7 separate regions of the Homo sapiens genome follow, and regions 2, 3, 4, 5, 6 and 7 are each linked to region 1. The links are contacts of gene promoters, found by promoter capture Hi-C in blood cells and fetal thymus (Javierre and others, 2016). All regions are on one chromosome and are shown on one strand. Each heading gives the region's core, a stretch centred on a gene start or on the middle of the fragment in contact. The rest is flanking DNA. Distances are from core to core; before and after follow the strand shown. Region 1 holds the start of FICD (FIC domain protein adenylyltransferase). Region 2 has its middle 71 kb from the start of WSCD2. Region 3 overlaps SVOP (SV2 related protein). Region 4 has its middle 40 kb from the start of WSCD2. Region 5 overlaps SVOP (SV2 related protein). Region 6 overlaps SSH1 (slingshot protein phosphatase 1). Region 7 overlaps SSH1 (slingshot protein phosphatase 1).

What was found. Contacts are between HindIII fragments. The CHiCAGO score rates a contact against its expected background, and 5 or more counts as called.
Region 2: a fragment that was not itself captured here is called in contact with the fragment with the promoter of FICD in region 1 in 1 of 17 cell types (M2 macrophages); the score reaches 5.1 in M2 macrophages.
Region 3: a contact is called between a fragment that was not itself captured here and the fragment with the promoter of FICD in region 1, in 1 of 17 cell types (neutrophils). The highest score is 7.0, in neutrophils.
Region 4: a fragment that was not itself captured here is called in contact with the fragment with the promoter of FICD in region 1 in 1 of 17 cell types (M2 macrophages); the score reaches 5.0 in M2 macrophages.
Region 5: a fragment that was not itself captured here is called in contact with the fragment with the promoter of FICD in region 1 in 1 of 17 cell types (neutrophils); the score reaches 6.5 in neutrophils.
Region 6: a fragment that was not itself captured here is called in contact with the fragment with the promoter of FICD in region 1 in 1 of 17 cell types (neutrophils); the score reaches 6.2 in neutrophils.
Region 7: a fragment that was not itself captured here is called in contact with the fragment with the promoter of FICD in region 1 in 4 of 17 cell types (neutrophils, fetal thymus, naive CD4 T cells and 1 more); the score reaches 8.6 in neutrophils.

What each region holds. Positions count from the first base shown.
Region 1 is chr12:108,513,818-108,516,653 of GRCh38, forward strand. FICD (FIC domain protein adenylyltransferase) reads left to right here and starts at 1,460. Exons shown (of 3, transcript NM_007076.3): 1 at 1,460-1,544. RefSeq lists an enhancer at 932-991. The HindIII fragment of the contact is 9,938 bases long and covers 1-2,836 here.
Region 2 is chr12:108,057,115-108,059,950 of GRCh38, forward strand. No RefSeq gene overlaps it. Among named protein-coding and RNA genes, the nearest start is that of WSCD2, 71 kb to the right of the region's middle. The HindIII fragment of the contact is 6,167 bases long and covers 1-2,836 here.
Region 3 is chr12:108,956,817-108,959,652 of GRCh38, forward strand. The region is part of intron 6 of SVOP (SV2 related protein); the gene reads right to left. Among named protein-coding and RNA genes, the nearest start is that of SVOP, 63 kb to the right of the region's middle. The HindIII fragment of the contact is 2,176 bases long and covers 319-2,494 here.
Region 4 is chr12:108,087,531-108,090,366 of GRCh38, forward strand. No RefSeq gene overlaps it. Among named protein-coding and RNA genes, the nearest start is that of WSCD2, 40 kb to the right of the region's middle. The HindIII fragment of the contact is 1,884 bases long and covers 401-2,284 here.
Region 5 is chr12:108,936,521-108,939,356 of GRCh38, forward strand. SVOP (SV2 related protein) reads right to left here. Exons shown (of 16, transcript NM_018711.5): 9 at 2,307-2,435; 10 at 744-817. Among named protein-coding and RNA genes, the nearest start is that of DAO, 58 kb to the left of the region's middle. The HindIII fragment of the contact is 4,586 bases long and covers 1-2,836 here.
Region 6 is chr12:108,825,044-108,827,879 of GRCh38, forward strand. The region is part of intron 2 of SSH1 (slingshot protein phosphatase 1); the gene reads right to left. Among named protein-coding and RNA genes, the nearest start is that of MIR619, 11 kb to the right of the region's middle. RefSeq lists an enhancer at 2,617-2,836. The HindIII fragment of the contact is 1,236 bases long and covers 825-2,060 here.
Region 7 is chr12:108,806,121-108,808,956 of GRCh38, forward strand. SSH1 (slingshot protein phosphatase 1) reads right to left here. Exons shown (of 15, transcript NM_018984.4): 8 at 1,513-1,707; 9 at 181-274. The region is part of intron 1 of LOC101929204 (a long non-coding RNA gene); the gene reads left to right. Among named protein-coding and RNA genes, the nearest start is that of MIR619, 29 kb to the right of the region's middle. RefSeq lists an enhancer at 1-673. The HindIII fragment of the contact is 2,146 bases long and covers 316-2,461 here.

The DNA.
Region 1 (2,836 bases), core at 210-2,709:
CTAGGAGTAACGTGCCCAAGGTGACACGGAGAGTAAATGGCAAAGTCTGAATTTGAGCTCAGGTCTCTTTGACTCCCCAGAATCTGAACTGCTAACTTCTAAATGCTTAGCGTTTCTGGGGCACCTCCCTAGATGTTTAATTTCAGTATTTGTGGATTAAGATGGAGGTTTCCATTCTCTGCTTCAAGGAAAAAATTTCTCTCTGGGAAGCCAAAAGAACTAGCCAGGTCCTTCTGGAGAGGATACAAATTAAAAAGTCAGGGAGAACCGAGGGGGTGGCTTGCGCCTGTAATCTTAGCGCTTTGGGAAGCCGAGATGGAGGGAGAGCTTAAGGTCAAGAGTTCGAGACCAGCCCGGGCGACATAGTGAGACCCGGTCTCTAAAGAAAATAAAAAATCAGAAATAGGTCGGGCGCGATGGCTCACGCCTGTAATCCCAGCACTTTGGGAGGCCGAGGCAGGCGAATCTTCTGAGGTCAGGAGTTCGAGACCAGCCTGGCCAACGTGGTGAAACCCCATCTCTACTAAAAATACACAAATTAGGCGGGCGTGGTGATGCGCGCCTGTAATCCCAGCTACTCGGGAGGCTGAGGCAGGAGAATCGCTTCAACCTGGGAGGCGGAGGTTGCAGTGGGCCAAGATCGTGCCACTTCCCTCCAGCCTGGGCAACAGAGTGCGATTCCGTCTCAAAAAAAAAGAAAGAAAGCAAGACAGAGAGAGAGAAAAAAAAAGAAAGAAAGAAAGAAAAGAAAAGAAAAGAAAATTCGCCGGGCATGGTGGCATGCACCTGTAGTCCCAGCTACTCGGGAGGCTGAGATGGGAGGATTGCTTGAGCCCAGGAGGTGGAGGCTGCAGTGAGCTGCAATTGCTCCACCGCACTCCAGCCTGGGCGACACAACGAGACCCTGTATTTTATAAGAAAAAAAAAAGTTGTTTAAGTCAGGGAGGAAAAGACACAGAGAGGAAAAGAGTAAAGAAGAAGAAGGCGGCAAACTCAGCAGCATGGGGTGGAGGCTAAGAACAGGGGCTGCGCAGTCAAGCAGGCTAACCGGGTGAAGGGGTGAAAAGCATCAGCATCTTCATTTCACAACCGGGAAAAATGAGGCACACGACAGCGGCTCCGGGACGAAGAGACCCGAGGAAAAGACCGCCGTGGAACTTCCAGTTTCCGGGCCCGCCACCTAGTGTGCCCCAAATCCGCACGCCCATCGGGTTTCCAGCACCTGCTCCTCCTGCCTGTGGCCTAGGCCCCGCCCCTCCCGCTGCTTATTGGCTGCTACGTGAACGAGACAAACGCAAGCAACAACCAATGGGAGTGGCCCACGGCGCGTCTTTCCCGGGGAAGCCGACGCGGACGCGGGAACCCGGAAATGCGAGGGAAGGACAAGTGGGGAAAGCCAATCCGCCGCGACGAGGGCTGCGGGCGGTTCAATGGCAAGTCGCCGGGGGCGGGGCCAGAGGCCGGCGGAGAAGGAGGACCCGGGAGCCGGCGGCCCGGAGCTGGGAGCGCGGGGAAGGCGGTTGGGGTTCTGACAGCTGCGCGCGGTGAGAAGGGGAAAAGCCCTAGGGGCTCGAGAGGATGAAGCCGGGAAGGGTGCGACGGGGCCGCGAGCCCTGGGCGGGGTTCGGGAAGGGAGGCTCTGCAGTCTTGGAGGGGACTCAGACCGGTCCCCTCCCCTCTCCGGGCCTCAGTTCTCCCTTTCTAGGGAAGTGTGGGGGAGAGATTCGCGCCTCCCAGAACGCACTCCTTCCCTGCACACACCCCTGGCACCGGCGAACTGCCCCCTTTCCTGTACCGCCCCGCCCAGGAGCCTGTCCCCTCGGGAAGCCCGCCCAGACCCCTGGACCCGCGCAGCACTCCAGGCGCACCCCTATTAAAGCGCACCCCAAGCCATTTCACATGTTCTGTGGCAATGGGCCAGGATCCCCATGAGACTCAGAACCCCGTGATCCATCAGTCATTCCCGGGTCAGGACCAGCCCAGAGCAGGTGCACAGGCCCTGCTTAGTAATAAGGTAGAAATCGAGACCTGGGGACCGGGTTCAGAGGCCCTGGGGTTTCCTTCCGGATGCCTCTGTTTACCTCCTGTGGGCCTTCTGGAATTTAACTTATGCTCTCTGTGTCTTGGTTTCCCTTGTCTGTAAAATGGAGCTAGCGGTAGCTCTTCCTTCATAGGGTGGCATGAGGGTGAAACGAGGCAATGCGTGGCCAGTACACTGCTCAGCACCTAGGACACCATAGTTGCTTAATAAGTGCTTATTGTTAGCATAGTGTTTGCATGCCTGGCCCCACCTCCACTCCCACTGCCAGCCCCAAGCACATACAAGCCATGTTGTCACTGAGGCCAAGCACTGTGGCCCACAGCCTGAGTTCCTTTCGAGATGCTCGAACTGCTCATCTTCTTGATGGGGTCCCTTCTGGACAGGCCAGAAATGGAAGGCCAGAGAGGGGAAGGGCACTGTGGGAGCTGTGGCTGAATATCAGGGTGAGGGCAATAAATGAGGCCACCCAACAATTGTGCTTATCAAAGATTGGGCGTCAGAACTGCTGTGGCTGATCTGCCTGGGTGTCTGTCAGTCATTTATGTCCCAAATGTTTGACATATGTCCACAAATCCAGTGTTTGTGGTCAGAAGCCACAGGGATATATGGGAAGGGGGGACACTTTAGAGCCGTGGGGTTCCTGAGTTCAAGTCCTAAGGCTGTCACTTGCTCCCGGCGAGACTTTCGGCAAGGGACTTCACCTCTCTGAACCTCAGTTCCCTCACCTGGAGAAGGGTGAAAACATCAGCTCAAGTCGTTGAAGATTGCAGGAGGTGACCCATGTGAGGCATTTGG
Region 2 (2,836 bases), core at 212-2,711, 460 kb before region 1:
TTGTATTGGATGAGGACCCACCCATGTGACCTCATTTTAGCTTAATGATCTCTTTAAAGGCCCTATCTTCAAATACAGCAATATTCCGAGGTCCTAGGGGTCAGGACTTCAACATGTGAATGGGTTATGGTGCAGGCGGAACAATTTAGCCCATTATAGACCCTTCTCTTTTTCCCCACAGCCCTCACGCCACATGTTCCTCTAGCTCGGAAACCCTTTATCATAATGTCCTGTGCACTTATCTTTCTCCCTAACTAGACTACACCTGTGAAGGCAAGGACCCTTTCCACTGCTGCATCCCCACAGTGACTAGAACCCTGCCCGGCACACCGTTAAGTACTCAACAGCTATCTGTAAAGCACATGCATGTAGTTGCCATCCTGGTTATCCTTAGAATCAAGTGAGGGGCAAAAGAAGAAGGACCTGTATACTCAGCTTGAGGCTGACTGTAGCTGGAAGACAGAGGTGAGATAATGTTGCATGGCCACACCACCATGCCCAGTTTCCCCTTTGGGACATTATCCCGTGGGTTTTTCTTTCTTGAGCTGCTCTCCCTATCCTCCTCATTCTGATATCTCACCCAGCTAGACCAGTGTGGTGAATATATCCAGCAGCACCCAACAGCCCTGCAAACCGACAGGCTTTCTTTGACCATAACCATCTCAGACAGATCAATGTGAATCCCTTCCTTAGCAGTTGCAAGGAAAGAGCAGTTAATCTTGCCCAGGGTGGGCCACCCTGCTTTAAAGGAATGAGTGGAGGTAGAGGTGCCTATATTGTTTCATGTCTAACTTCGACAAATCAAGTGAATTTTTTTTTTTTTGATAGAGTCTCGCTCTGTTGCCTAGGCTGGAGTGCAGTGGTGCGATCTTGGCTCACTGCAAGCTCCGCCTCCTGGGTTCACACCATTCTCCTGCCTCAGCCTCCCGAGTAGCTGGGATTACAGATGCCCACCACCACACCTGGCTAATTTTTTTTTTTTTTTTTTTTGTATTTTTAGTAGAGACGGGGTTTCACCATGTCAGCCAGGATGGTCTCGATCTCCTAACCTCCTAACCCAAGGCCTGTCTTGGCCTCCCAGAGTGCTGGATTACAGGTATGAGCCACCGCGCCCAGCCTCAAGTGGTATTCTTAATGACTTAGTGTGAATGTTTCAGAGATGACTTCTTTTTTCTCATTGATCCTTTCACCAGCTGCCATCATCCTTTAATTATAAGTCTCCACTTCCTTCCATCCTCTCTGACAAATAGATAATAATGATCTGTAAACAAACACATACGTGCACCAGGGGAGCAACTCTTGATAATAATTCTGCATAGCAGGAGGCAGGCAGGTAAGCAAAGCACGAAGTCACTCAGACTTCAGTTAGGATCATGGTTTTGCCATGCCATCTGATAGAGCGTTCTGTGCAGATGGAAATGTAGTATACCTGTGCTGTACAATAAGGTAGCCAGTAGCCACATGTGGCTGTTGAACACTTGACGTGTGGTTAGTGTGATTGAAGTACTGGATTTTAATTTAATTTAATTTTAATTAATTTAAGTAGCTACATGTGGGTAAAGTGGCTACTCTGCTGAAAAGTGCAGCTTAGAGACCAGTCATGTCACATCTCTGAGCCTCTTCTTTCTCCCCTGTAAAATGGAGATTAAAATCTCTATTGCATTAGGATAATACTAGTTGCTATTACAAACAGGCTATGTGGCATTAGAGGCTCCAACAAGTCGGAAGTTTGTTTCTCGCCCATGTAACAGTCTAGGGCATGCCCCCTCCAAAGAATATTCAGGGATTCAGGCTGATGGGGTTTGCTATCTCCAACACACAGACATTTTAGTTATTCCCATCTAGTCACCAGGAAAGGGAAAATAGCAGAATTCCAAAGCTAGGGGTTTTCTCTTAAGCAATTGAGGTAGAATTTGTAATGTCATTTCCGCTCTGCCAATTCTTGGCAAGAAAACACTCACATTACCACACGTAACAGCAAGGGGAGCTCAGAAATTTAGTCCTTAGCTGCGTCACAGTGTCCTAACTAGAATTATCTTAGTGTAGAATAAGGAAAGAACATATTTTGGAAGACAGATAACTGTATCTATTACACCTACTTTGGAGGATTGCTGTATGGGTTAAATATGTTACGTATGTGACACGGTACTTGTGTAATAGTCAGCTTTTGCTGTTAATAAGAAAACAACTCTACCGTTTCGTGTCTTAAGCCAACAATGCTGAGTGAGAGTTAGCAATTTGGGCTGTGTTCATGTAAGCAGTTCTAGACTCAGTTGATCTCAGTGTGGCTTCCATCAGTGCTGCTTCCATCAGTGCTGGGTCAGCTGGGGCTGGCTGATCTAGGATGGCCCTGGCTGGACCATCTTTCCTTGCTCTATTTAATTTTTATCCTCCAGCTGGCAAGTGACGGGGTCCAAGACAGTGAGGGAACACTCACAGGGCCTTTTGAGGTTTAGGATTGGAAATGACACCCAATCACTGCTGTCACATCCTATCAACTAAAACAAGTTACAAAGCCAATCAAGAATCAGGGGCAGGAAAACAGACTCCATCTTTTAATGGGAGGGGATGCAAAATCACATTGCAAAGGAGTGTAGTTATAGGGAGGGGAATAATTAGAGCCATTTTTGAAACAGTCTACTATAATTTGGTATACAATTTATTCAGTAAATGATGCCTAATGTTATTTTATTAATTCACTTATTAATTCTATATGGTCCCCTCATTCAAAAATTTATTGAATGTTTACTATGCATCAGGCTTTAGGCCAAAGACAGTGACTGCATTTGGATGTGTTAGGCATTGAACTCTGTAAGAAGAAGTCAAGTTAACTTTT
Region 3 (2,836 bases), core at 157-2,656, 440 kb after region 1:
ATTGTGCTATCCTGAAGCTGCTGGCCTAAGAGAGCAATGGAACAGGACTCTGAAGGTGTCACTAAGGTGTCAGCTTGGAGACGATGCCCTGTGACCATGGGGCACTGTCCTCCAGGACACAATACCCACTTAAGTCTATTGCCATTATGATGCTTCATTCCCAGGAGAAAAGATTCATGGGTCTGGAAATTAAGGGGTTGAAGTAAGAGTAGGCTTCACTGTCATCAGTCTCAGTGACCCAGATCAGGGGATTTGTACTTCACATCCTGCAACTTCTGGGCTCGGTGGGTCTAGAGGTCCTGGCTCCCAGGGAGGGAAAGCTTCCACAGGAGACACAGCAAGAGTCTCAGTAGAATGTCTTTTTTGAGATGGAGTCTTGCTCTGTCGCCGAGGCTGGATAGCAGTGGCGCGCTCTCAGCTCACTGCAAACTCCGCCTCCTGGGTTCAAGGGATTCTCCTGCCTCAGCCTCCCAAGTAGCTGGGATTACAGGTGTGTGTCACCACACCCAGCTAATTTTTGTAATTTTAGTAGAGACGGGATTTCACTGTGTCGGCCAGGATGGTCTCGAACTCCTGTCCTCACATGATCCACCTGCCTTGGCCTCCCAAAGTGCTGGGATTACAGACGTGAGCCACCGTGCCCGGACCCATTAGACTTTAAGCAACAGCTGCTACCCAGTAACTTTGGGCTCCTTTGTGTCAAGAAATGAACAGGCAAGAAAAAGAGTCACCGTGGGCTCCTTGGGTCCCATGTCAGAGAAATTGATCCTAACCACCATTAAGACTTAATAAGCCCCATCTATCATAGGGCCACCCAGGTGATATACCAGACATCTCTTGGTAATCTCCTGCTCAATTTTGGTGTTAAATGGACAAGCGCAGCAGCTATGGCCTAAAAGAGGCATGGCGACCAGGGACTCGAATCCCTTAGGCATGAGATCTCAGTCACCCACCCAGGTAAACCGTCTAGATCAGCGAGAGTGCTCGCTGAAGCTGAGAGGAATTTAGAATGGGAAGCAGAGGTGGGAGACATTTGGCCTTTTGGCCAAGGCAACTTCTGCAAGGAACTCAACTGTGAGCTCCATTGGCATCCATTGCAGCCGTGAGACTTTTGCAGAAAAGAGATTATCCAGAATCCTGGAGGAACTGTTCTTAGGCGGGGTGAGCTGATTACAATTATGGGCTGCATAACACATTTGAGTCAACAACAGACCACATATATGATGGTGGTCCCATAAGATTATAATACTGTGGTAATTAATTAACTTATTTATTTTGCAATCTTTTATTGAAGAGTACTGCTTCGTGCAGAGCAGGGCTAACTCATAGGCAGTGCACCCAGAGTTGGCCTATTTTCATTATTCTTTAATAGCGAGGGGGTCTAGCTATGTTGCCCAGGCTGATCTCAGACTCCTGGGCTCAAGGGATCCTCCTGCCTCAGCCTCCCAAAGTGCTGAGATTACAGGTGTAAGGTACCATGCCTGGCCTTTTTTTTTTTTTAATTTAATACTGTGTTTCTACTGTAGGTTTTCTATGTCTAAATGTGTTTAGAGATGCAAATACCATTGTGTTCGAATTGTCTGCAGTATTTAGCACAGCTACATGCTGTACGGGTGTGTAGCCCTGGAGCAATAGGCTATACCGTATAGCCTAGCTGTGTAGGAGGTTGTCCCATCTAGCTTTGTGTGAGGACAGTTTATGATGTTTGCACGGTGACAAAATCACCTATTGATGCATTTTTGGAACACATCCCCATCATTAAGTGACGCATGACTATATTTGAAGCAAGTGGGTCCACCCTGGACTGTGGAGGATGCTGTGATGTGCTACTTGGTCTGCCCTTCAGGACTGAGGCTTTTATTCCCTCCAAAATGAGCAGGAGCATTGCCTGCCAGGAGCTGAGTCCCTTGCAGAAGTTGCCTTGGCCAAAAGTAGCTGCCTTGCCTAAGATCATGCTCCATCCTTGAGGGCAGCCCACATCCGATGCCTGGTTGGTGTGAGGGTAAAAAGGCCTAGCCCCCCCGCCCCAATCTGAAACACCTCTGAAGGGCCACCTCTGCTTCTGAAACCCTGTAAGCTGACCAGAGGCCTCTGTGGCAATGGTATGGCAACTCAGCTTCCCCCTTCGCTGGTCCTAATTTTCTCACTTTCTTACAGGTGTTAATCCTAGTAACCACCTGCACAGTAATCTCCATCTCAAAGTCTATTCCCCAGGATCCCATCCTAGAACAGGGACCATGGTGCTCTTGCTCAATGCTGCGTCCTGGCACCTAGCATTTCTAGGTACTCAAGAAATATTGGTGGAATAAATGAATACACTACAAGGGATCGCCCTGGTCCTCTTGCAAAATTTTCCTAATGATTCCTTACCTCCAAGCTGTTCTACCTGCCATAGCCAGATCCATACTTCTAGGTACCTCCGCTGCTCAAGAACTCTCAGTGGCTCCTCATCACCAATAGAATCCCTTTGGCCTGGCATTTTAGGCCTTTAACAAGCTTGCCCTGGCCTACCTGTCCAACCTCAGCTTTTAATTCTTTTTTTTTTTTTTTTTTTTGAGTCAGAGTCTCACTCTGTCATTCAGGCTGGAGTGCAGCAGTACGATCTTGGCTCACTGCAACCTCTGCCTCCCAGGTTCAAGCGATTCTCCTGCCTTAGCCTCCCAAGTATCTGGGACTACAGGTGCCCGCCACCAAGCCCGGAAAATTTTTGTATTTTTAGTAGAGATGGGGTTTCACCATGTTGGTCAGGCTGGTCTCAAACTCCTGAGCTCAAGTGATCTATCCGTCTTGGCCTCCCAAAGTGCTGAGATTACAGGCATGAGCCACCGCGCCTGGC
Region 4 (2,836 bases), core at 93-2,592, 430 kb before region 1:
AGAATGATTTACTTTTGATAAACTTTTAGATGTGGAATTTGCTGGATTGGAAATAAAAAATAGGCACCCCTTTTCCTTTTTTAAAAAAAGACATTTAGGCTATGAATGAGCAAACTGCAACATGTAGCATAACAGAGGCCTATTTCTTCATAATCTCAGTGATACTATTTAATAAATATTAGCACTTGAAAACATCATCACCCATTCTGGGAAAGACAAAACTCAAGAGAGAGTAAAATGAGCAGTTGATGCTAGGGATTTAGAGAGAGGGTATAGGGATGAGTAGGTGGAGCAAATGGATTTTTAAGAAAGTAATGAAATTCTGTATCATACTGTAATTGTGAATGCAAGACATTAAGTATTTATCAAAACCCATAGAACTTTCAAGCACAAAGAGTGAAGCTTAATGAATGCAATTTAAAAAAATTATTTAAGGAGCTGGGATCCCAGGAGGGAAAGCAGACTATGACAAAGAATCTAACTGTATGACAAATGCCTGAAGCAACCACATTGAAGGGAGTGTGACGGGAGGTGCTGGCATAACTTTGGAAATAAATGGAGTCTGCAAGACAAAAGGCAGAAGGAACTGTACATAAGGACTGTACTCTAGTTGATAAAGTTGTTTCCCACAGGAATACAGGTTAACAATTCTGACACTGCTATACATGTATACTAGAGTTGAAGAATTAAGTAAATGGATATAAGTTGGTGAAAGTCATGTTTCTCACTGTTGGAGTGGGAGTTTACAGATAAGCCAGGGCAGGAAGCTAGATGATCCATATGGCGATGAATCAGAGCTGGGGACATCAGTATGAACTCAATGTTTAGCTTAATATGGATACAGATGGTTACATACAGAAATATTTATAGATATGTGTATTTACACAGGTTAGTGAGTGTATTCACAGATCATAAGAAAATATGTCAGCTGAGAGGGCCTAGAAGCAAAGACACCCCTGTAGCAAGAAGAACACCTAATGCCCAGATCTTGGTTACTAATACCATTCTCTAATAAAAGGAACCAGAGGTACTTGGAGAAATAGCTGTTTCAATGACTGGGGCAGTAAAAGCACAAGATGAGCCTGGAGCTTTTTATAGTGTCAGATTGCAAGGATGTGCTAAAACAAATGAGTGTATATCAAAGAAGCTCGGAAGCCAAGTGAAAGAGCTTCCAATGGCCAAAGCTGGAAAAATTGGAACAAGATAAATAAATAAAGAATTGAGTTATAACTCAAGGTATAAATCATATATCTCTGAGTGTATACTGATATAAATAAGTGACTGAATAGCTTAATGAATGGGGGAGAAGAGACAAATCTGTCATGCAGCCTAATTCCAAACAATTTACCTAGATGCTCTGCCCTCAAAGAGGGATAGCATAACTCCTCACTCTTTCAGTGTGGGCTGGAGATACCTGACAAAGACTACCTTAGCCAGGTTATCAAGGCCAATACCAATTGTCATAAGTCATGCTGTTAGTATGTACCCTTGATATAATGTGATGAAAATTGCAGTTACCTCTCTGGTCTTACTCCCACAGACCCATAACCTGAGTCAATCCATTAAAAAAAATCAGCTAATAGAGGGACATTCTACAAAATACCTGACCAGTGCTCCTCAAAACTCTCAAGGTAATAAAAAACAAGGAAAGTGCATAACTATCATAGTCAAGAGGAATGTAAGGAGACATGATAACTATATGTAAATGCTACCTGGGTGGGATTCTAGGCTCAAAACAAAGGACATTAGGTAAAACATAAGGATATTTGAATAAAATATAGACTTTAGTTAATAATTTTCTATCAATATTGGTTCATTAGCTGAAACAAATATATCACATTAAGATAAGATGTTACTAATAGGTAAGACTGGGAACTCCAAACTATCTTATTAAATTTTCTGTCAATCTAAAACTGTTCTAAAACATAAAGTCTGTATTTTAAAACATTGCCAATTGGACATAGGTGAAAACTAACACCTTGTTTTTTCTTTATTTGCCTTTCTTTGTTTACTAGTGTGATGAAGCCTTTTTATGTGTGCATGCATTGGCTGCTTATATTTCTTCTTTGAATTGCAAATTTTCATGTATCCCTAAGGTTTTATGGTTATTTATTATGTGGCATTATTGTAGTTCATCTAACCGATACAATCTCATAGAATTATCATAGTCCTATGAAGTATTATTTACCTGTTTTCCATAATTATATAAATATCCATTTTACGGGTAAAGATATGGAGGCTGAAAGAGACTGAATAATTTACCCAGTTCATAGAGTAACACCTAAGCTTTGAACTCACATTGGTCTGACTCCAGAATCCCCTAGGCACCATGTAATACCATGAAGTACCAAGTGATGATGTTGGCAGAGGAAGGGGAGGGAGTCTTGGCAGATAGCTTGGGGTCCAGTGACAACCTTTGAATTCTGGGCTTTAGAATAATGACAGCACCCCAGAGAGGAGCACCACGTAGTCAAACTATATAGGAAGTCTCTGAGTGGCTGATGTGAGAAGTGGCTCCTGAGGGCACCAAATTTCCTGCAGGTCTCTCCAGACTCTGCCGAGAACAGCAAAATGGATTCTCTGGAGTTGTGCCTGGAAGAAATGTAATTGTCAGGGGCCAGAAGGCAGCAGAATTCCATGCCATATATCATCATAATTTAATGTTGAGCCTCTTAAAACTGAAGCCAGGAAGGAGAACCTTCCTTCCCCAGAGTGCGTTAACAGCATCCAGGCTGCAGGGCCCTCCACTCGCCAGTACTTGCCTTTGCAGGGCTTGACCTCTAGGACCTGGGATGTAAAGGGCCAAAGATGTGGAGGTTCATAGCCACTAGTACTG
Region 5 (2,836 bases), core at 109-2,608, 420 kb after region 1:
GCTGGAGTACAGTGGCATGATCACAGCTCATTGCAGCCTCAACCTCCTGGGCTCAAGTGATCCTCCCACCTCAGCCTCCTGAGTAGCTGGGACCACAGGTGCATGCCTCCACACCCAGCTAATTTAAACATTTTTTGTAGAGACAGGGTTTTACCGTGTTGCCCAGCCTGGTCTCAAACTGCTGGCCTCGAGAGATATTCCCACCTTGACCTTACCAAAGTGTTGGGATTATGGGCATGAGCCACCATGCCCAGCCAGCCTTCTTATCTCTTAAATACAGAGGCTCACTGCCTCTGCAAACCTCCGTCTAGTTACTTTTGCTGATATTTCTCTTTAAGAGTGCCTTCTATCTGTGACTTGCAATTAAGGTGTTTTCTTTTAAAGTAGAGTTATAAGCCTGGTTCAGCGGCTTACAACTGTAATCCCAGAATTTGGGGAGGCTGAGGAGGGAGGATTGCTTGAGTTCAGGAGTTCAAGGCTGCAGTAAGCTAGGAGAGCGCCACTGCACTCCAGCCTGCACGGTGATTAAAAGCAGTCAAGTTAAAGAAAAAGATGAAGGAAATGATAGTACGTACAGATGATAACCTGGATATGACGGAAATCAGGAGGATGATGTTCGAACTACTGAAATTTGCAAACGCTGCCTGAAATCAAAGTGCTATCTGTCCATTGCATTAAAACAAAACCCAAAACAGGGCACAGGGAGTGGAAAGGGGTCAAAGTGGTCAACAAACAGCTCTTACCATATAAACCACAGCAGCAAAGTTGTCCATCTAAAATGGGGTGTGAAAAGGTCCCTCATTTTGCCTCGGTCTTCCTGTTTCAAAACAAGGACATAGTGTTTATTCTCTCCCCTACAGATGCACGGGAGATGGGCTGGTGGCCTGAGACTAGTGCACACCAGGCTGGGAGGAAGGTTTCTAGTAAGTAGGACACTGGAGCTCTGAGAACCCAGGTCTCAAATCTACAGGACGCAGCCTCCCAGCCCCTCCAGCCAGAACCCAGCCATGTCCAGGGGCATGATCCCCACAGGATGGATCTCACGCCCTCCAACCTGGAAACCTGGACTTGGGAAGCAGATCCCTCCTTCCTGGCCCCTCAGACCTCAGCACAGATCCAAGGACACAGCAAGCAGAAAACCAGTCCAAAGCATGTCCAGCCATTTCACACACACACATGTGCCTTCCCCAGTTCTAGGTCTAGGTGGCAACAGTTAATGTGCTGAGAAACTAATTCACCAAAGGCCAATTTACCAAAAGATTGATTAGCTAAATGACCGATTGGCCAATTTTACATAATTCACAAATTTATCAAACTTTGCTTTACGATGTTCTTTAAAAAATATATGCTATGGCCAGGTGTGGTGGTTCGTGCCTGTAATCCCAGCACTTTGGGAGGCCGGGGCAGGTTGATCACTTGAAGCCAGGAGTTCGAGACCAGCCTGGCTTTCCCTCATCCATGGAAGGGATCTCTCCCCAAAGGCAACCAAATAGGCTTCTGCACCTCTTGAGGAATCCATCCTGCTCTGCCCCTGTAGATTTGGGGCAGGTCCCCTGGACTCTATGTTGTCAGACCAAACACCTCCTTCCAACTTGGTGAAATGCCATTCAGTTCTTCTTGCATAATATAAAAAGAATCAGAAATATAACTTTATTTTAAAAGGTAATTTCTTTATAGGATCTGATGTCTGCTTAAGGTATTTGTCATGTTTCTTCAATCGGCTTGGATGGTTCTTGAGGGCAGGGACTGCAGCCTTAAATCCGAATCTTTTCTCCCCATGTGTGCAATGCTGGTGCCTACATATACTAGGTGCTCATTAAGTTTCACCGTGGTGGACTCCCTGATGGTGTTACCAGCGGAGTGAGGCACCATTCATTAAGAACACCTACACAGGGTGCGGTTTGATCCCCTAGATCTAAGCACACTCCTTCCTGATATGGTTTTATTGCACAGCTTTTGCCAATCAGTCTCATTCGCTAGTCAGACTTCATCTGTGCTGAAAGGCGAAACCAAAGCAGGAGCAGTTACAGGACCCATTAGCAGAGGTTACTTTTCTCTAATCACTGGTGAAATTCTCCAGGAAGCATTTTTAGAACTTGGAAGTGAAAATACAGATTGGAGTTGCCAAATTACCCTTGCAGGTCCTGTCTACTGGGCCCTCATCTGCTCCATGTGCACGCACACACCCCACCTTGGGTACACATACCCACATGTGTCCTCGCATGCATGCCCTACTCCATATGCACACACTCCCCTGCATGCACCCCGATACGCACATTGCAGAGTCTATTGGTCCAGGCACTGACCTGTCTGGAGATGATGAGTTTCCCCAGCGGCATGGGAGCTCCGTTTTCAGTTGCTATCCTCTTTAAGGTGGCGATTGCCTTTTCCTGGTTCCCTGACAGCACATCATACCTTGCACTTTCAGGCAGCCACTGGGATGGGGGAGACAGGAAACCCAGGCGTGGCTGGTTAGGGTGGAACAGAGCACTCGCTTCTAGCCACACAGTGTTGCATGTGGGGTCTTTAAGAGTGGGGGCTCTGGAGCCAGAGAGCTGACTTCAAATCCTGGCCCCACCATTTATTATGTTGGTTGTGTGACCCTGTACAATTACTTGACTTCTCTGTGCTTTCATTTCCTTCTCCATAAAATGTGAATGATAAGAGATCCTACCTCTTAGGGCTCTTAAGAGGATTAAACAGGATAATACAGGCAAGGTGCCTAGTGCAGTGCCTGGTATGGGTTAATGCAGTTATTATTATTGTCACGGTTGCTATTACTATTATTTGGGGCTGTTTTCAGAGTTCCAGGTGAGGGCTGAATTAAATTAAGATC
Region 6 (2,836 bases), core at 193-2,692, 310 kb after region 1:
ATATAAAACACTACTATATAATTTAAAAAGAACATTCTAATCTTAATAATTTCATAAAAGGAGGTCACAGTTCAAATTGTAGGCAACTATAAAAATTTCGCTCTTGAACAACCAATGAACATATACATGATTTGAAGGAAAAATCCCTAAGAAAAAGCAGTCTTCTAATTAAAGAGAACCTTGAAATTAAGTAAATCAATTCCTGACAGAAAGACGAAGATGTTTTCTGTAATACAAGAAAGCAAGATCACCTTTGCCCCAGACATCTAATGTTAGTAGTTAAACGTTCGAATTCTGGAATAAAAAACTCAGCAAAGTCTAAAGTATGACTCTGGGTGCCAAGAAAATGCCACAGGAACTAGCATTTCCAATCAGCAGCTCCTGAGATCAGGAAGACTGTTATGTTCTATGATATAAAGTCCACAATAAAATCTGTTAGTTTTTCTGGTTAAATGCTCATGCTAAAAATAGTGACTGCTCAAATATTAAGTAAGAAGACTTAGTTTTGCCTTCTTGTTCAGTCCTCTGAATTCCAGGCAATTGGTTTTCGATATCTTGTGACACCAATACTTGACATCTAACAGCATTTTGTCCACTACTGCAGATGCACTGCCGAGTCATCCTTTCCACCCTCTCACAGGCATATATTTGTGCTGCAAGGTTCAAGTGTTGAGGAGCTCAGGATTATAAATAACGAAAGAAACGAGAAGCAGCCTTTCTTTGCTGTCTCACCCTCACTCATAGGAAGTAAAAAGCTCTTTAGCATCCATCTGGCCGATCTCATTTCACAGGCTGCAGAATCACCTAACCCTTTCCACCTGCAAAGCTTGTCACTCTCTCCTTCCTTAGAATCTCACAGCTGAGTATGTTTTCAGAACTGTTCTTAGACACAGATCATTTACTATTTATTCTCATCAAAATCTGAAACAGCTATGCGAGAGGTTCCAAACTCATGAAACCTAAAACAACCATCAGTTCATCGAAGCAGCTGGGAAAATCTTTTCGAGACAACATCAACTGCTTTTGTTCATGAGATTAAAAAAAAAAAATTCATACTGACCAGAAACCCAAGCACGCTGGAAACAGCCAACCATTAACGATGACCTTTGCCTTGGAAACCATGAGCAAAAATTCCCCTTGGTTTCCCTTATATTTCCTTTGGAAAAAAAAAGGAACAATGCAACAGACTAGGCTGGTTTCACTCTGTGATCACTTACAAGGCCAGCTGTTCCTCCTCCATGTTCCTACACTGATAAGAATCAGGGACTCCTGCTCTACGCATGAAGTCAGGATGGCATTGATTGGGGCCCTGGAACACTCTGCCTCTGTTCCCCCACGACAATCAAGTAACAGGCATTTACTGTAAAAAGCAAGACTGGAAGCTGCAGGGAAGCCCAAGTAGCAGCGCATTATCCCGAAGCTGTGAGATCACCCTGCGTCCTGCAAATACAGTCAGGAGATACAGCCAGAGGAAACCGCACGACATGACTCTCCGGGTGGGGGGTGGGGTGGGAGGCCGCAGAGCATGGTCAGTCACAGGATTTATGAAAACAAGATGCAGAAAGTCTCTGTGACCCGGCTTCCTGGCTTCTCTTCTGAGCTCACTCTGGGCCCAGAGCCTCATGCGCCCTCTGCGTGGCTGACCTGAATACTGTATCTGACGACTGCAGCTTCTGATGCCCAGAGGCACAGGCTCCCGATTCATCAGACCCTCAAAGTGTCCCACTGGGGAAGTCCATGAAGAAATCCACATTGGTGATGGCACGCTCACTTTACCAGGTGTCTGGGGCCAGGAAGCCCAAACCCACAAGCCATCCATCCCAGCCACCCAGAAGTCACTCTTCTCACAAAAGATCTGAGTGTCCTAAAAGGAGTGACTAAAGTTACAAAAGGTCAGACGCAGACAGACAAAACGGAAATGTCTTCCTCCACCGCTGTAAGAAAAATCTTGATGAGGGATAAAAAAAAAAAAAGCCGCTGCCCTCTCTACCCGCCAACTGGAATGTTTTTATCTCCACCACACAGATCTGTTCTCGGACACTGATTACTGCCATTCGGGAAGCTTCATAAGATTAAAGTTTCTCCAAAGCATTGAAGACAGACAAAAAACCTCAATCAATGCTCCTCAAAAAACCCCAGGCCCCCAAAATATAAACAGCCAGTGTCATCCAGAAACCAAGCCATGGCAGGAAACCAGTAATCAGGGTGGTCATACGTACTAATTTGAGCTGGAAACCTCTGGACAGCAGAAGCAGTGGGTTGGCTGAAGGAAGATGCAGAAGTCGGTAAAATAAAAGAGGTTCGTGGCTGCAGTGCTCACATCTCTAACGCTCCCTACAACTGCCCTCCGAGCTCTGGCCATCTGCTCCCTATGGAGATCAGGAAAAGCCAGGAGGCTGCCGAGTGCTTCCACGAGGGCTGGGGAGCCAACTCCTCCTCAGAGTCCTACCCGAAAAGCAAATGGCTCTTGTGGAACTCTTGTCTTCCTCTGATATTTTGGCTGAAAAAGGCCCTTGTCCCAGCACATCCTGATGAAAGAGGGCCATTCAGCAAAACAGCTGAGGTTCCTCTAATCACTGCACTCCTACGGGCTTTTCTGTAGGCCGGAGAAACAAGCACCGGGGTGTGCATTCGACATTGTGAGGGCAAACAACTGGCCCCAAGGAACCAACCCCAAGCAACAAGACCCCCTTCCGATTCAAATCAACATTCTGAAGGATGACTCTTTCTTTCAAATCAGCATCCATTTACCCAACGGTGACGGTGACGTGGGCAGCTGCCGCAGTTAGTTATTCTGCGTACTCAAAGCACGGTTACATCCTGAAAATTCTTCAGT
Region 7 (2,836 bases), core at 139-2,638, 290 kb after region 1:
AGTCTGACTCCGAGGCCTGATACAATTGTAGAACGAGGCAGAAAAAAGCCTCCGGGGGCTGATACCAGAGGACAGGTAAAGACAACCAGATGTTGGGCCTGCTTTTGCTGCACTTTCGGGAGCAGGACACATGGAGGCTGCATGACCTCTGACCTGCAATGAAGGGAGGAGTTGTCTTACCTCTTTGGAAGTCACATTTTCTAGATCCTGGCTCATCATGATGCTTCGGAGCTTGGCTTTGATGAGGCGCTCGGTCCTTTCCCCTTCAGTGGGCCTGGAAAGAAATGACGTTTAGGAGAGCAAGGAGCTGTAGAAAGCTTGTGGTCGGAGGTTACAGGAATGCCAGATGCTCCTGGGTCTAAACAGAACACGGCTTGGCAAGGAGAGCACGCTTCTTGGTGTGCATGTTCTCAGGCAGCAGGGAGAGGTGCACAGAAAACCCGCTGCAGCTCTAGAACTCCCACGGGAGTCAACAGAGCAGGGAGCAGGTCAAGCGGGGAGAGGACAGTGTGGAAACTCCTTGCTCAGACGCTCTTAGGGCAGGATGCTGGGATGCCCAGCGCAACATCCCCAGGCCCCTGGGCCCTTGAGTCTCTGCTCGAACACGTGTGGGCATGAGGACCTCACTGTCTGAGGCAGCCCGGCCCAGCTGCAGCAGATCCCATTATCCCCTTTTTCCTCAGAATCAAAATCTGGGTATTTCCCTGCTCTGGTTTTAACTCTAGGGGACACACAGACCAGGATAATCCTTCTTCCCCATGAGGAATCTTCAAATATTCAAAGGCAACTACCCTTCCTCCGTGATTTCAAGGCCCTCTCCTAATGTGGCTTCCCATCCCTCAGGTCTCTGCCCTCTGAACACACTGTGGTTTATCCATAGTCTTCCCAAAATGCAGTGTCCTGGAGGAACACCACACTGTGGGAGCAGGGTCCTGACCCCGAGGGGAGGGGCGACCAGCATTCTCCCTAACTAGACTTCAGCGAGTGTGGCCTCTCCATGTCAGCGCTGTCGTAGGTCACACGACACAGGTCATGTGGTTCACCATGGCTGCTGCTAAGGCAGGCTGCCCTCACCAGTTGTGTTTTTGGATCCAAGGAAGCAGAGGACACATTCCTAACTCTCCTCAGAGCAGAGCGGGAGGCTCTGAGAATTAAGTCTCTGGTAATCTGAAGAGAAAAGGCCAGACCACAGAGCTCTGGAAGGAGTTGGGGACACAAAGGGCCACACATTCCTTTGAGAGTCTGATGGGAGTTACGGACCCCGTCCCCAGAAATGCATTCACCAAATTCATCAGTAATTTTTTTTTTTTTTTTCTTTTTTTTGCATGGGACAGGGGCCTGTGTCACAGACCCCTGCTTTAAACGCTGGTTCTGAGAAAGCTAGGGTTCTCACTCAAGGGACTCCAGGGGAGGTGTGGCCCAATGCAGGTTCAGGGTCGGGCACAGGGCAGGTGGGGGAGAGGCAGGTGCCTGTGGGCTTGGGTGCGCTCACACCAGAGGCACCTCACTTACTTGTCCACAAATAGCGCGGGGGAGTCGGGCCGCGTAGACTCCAGGTCCTGCATGGCGTTCCACTCGTTGATGCAGCTCTGCTCGGAGCTGATGCAGCTCTCATAGTAGGTAGCCCAGATGAGAGCTACACCCCCGGGGAAGTAGTTGTGCCTCCGGGCCACTTCGCAGGCCTTGTGAAGCACCTGCAGGGCAGACCTGGGGCGAGGAGAAGACAGGGTCAGGCCTGGGAAGGCACAAGAGATGCAGGGTTTTCTCCTCTGACAAAGGGGTTCAAATACGGGAAGGGAAGGGCAATGATTGATTGGTTGATTATTTCTTTTTGGGACAGAGTCTCGCTCTGTCACTCCCAGGCTAGAGTGCAGTGGCACGTTCTCGGCCCAATGCAATCTCCGCCTCCTGGGTTCAAGCAATTCTCCTGCATCAGCCTCCCGAGCAGCTGGGACCACAGGCGCCCACCACCACGCCCAGCTAATTTTTCTATTTTTAGGAGAGACAGGGTTTCACAATGTTGGACAGGCTGGTCTTGAATTCCTAGCCTCAAGTGATCTGCCCGCCTCGGCCTCCCAAAGTACTGGGATTATAGGCGTGAGCCACCATGCCCGGCTGAGAAGTGCAGTTTGTAAAGGGCTCACTCTTGGAGTCACACTTACACATACAGGCGGCTGGGGAATGCATATAGCCTGAAACATTCAGCCCGCCAGGACACGGAGCTAGTCCTTGGGACATATTCACTGATTGAATCTAAGAGTGGCCAGAACACCCCACATTATTTCCAAAGAGCAGCAGAAACAAACAACAACAAACTACTTCATAACTCTTCCAATCAGGTGGTTCACGGGTTATTTTACAACCCATCAATTAACTCCAGAGAATTAAGAACTGCTCCTGAAGCGTGGTAACCCTGAACATATGTTCATATGACCCACATTGAACCTAAGACCCACAATTAAGCTTAGCAGCTGGAAGAAAAAGTCTTTAATATGCAACAGAGACATCTGCCTGCATTCTAAATAATTACATTTCCACCCATCCCCCCATCAACATTCTAATAGCTTAGATGCTTAGATTTCTTAAGAAAACAAGTTCTAGAAAGTCATTTTAATATAGAAACTAACTGAAGAGGTTTGGGGAGCAGACTGGGAAACAATATTAAGAATCTATGTTTTATTTAGTCACCCTCTTTTACTTCTTTTTTTTTTTTTTTTTTTTTTTTTTGTTTGAGAGAGAGTCTCACTCCATCGCCCGGGCTGGAGTGCAGGGGCGTGATCTCGGTTCACGGCAACCTCCATGTCCTGGGTTCAACTAATTCTCTTGCCTCAGCCTC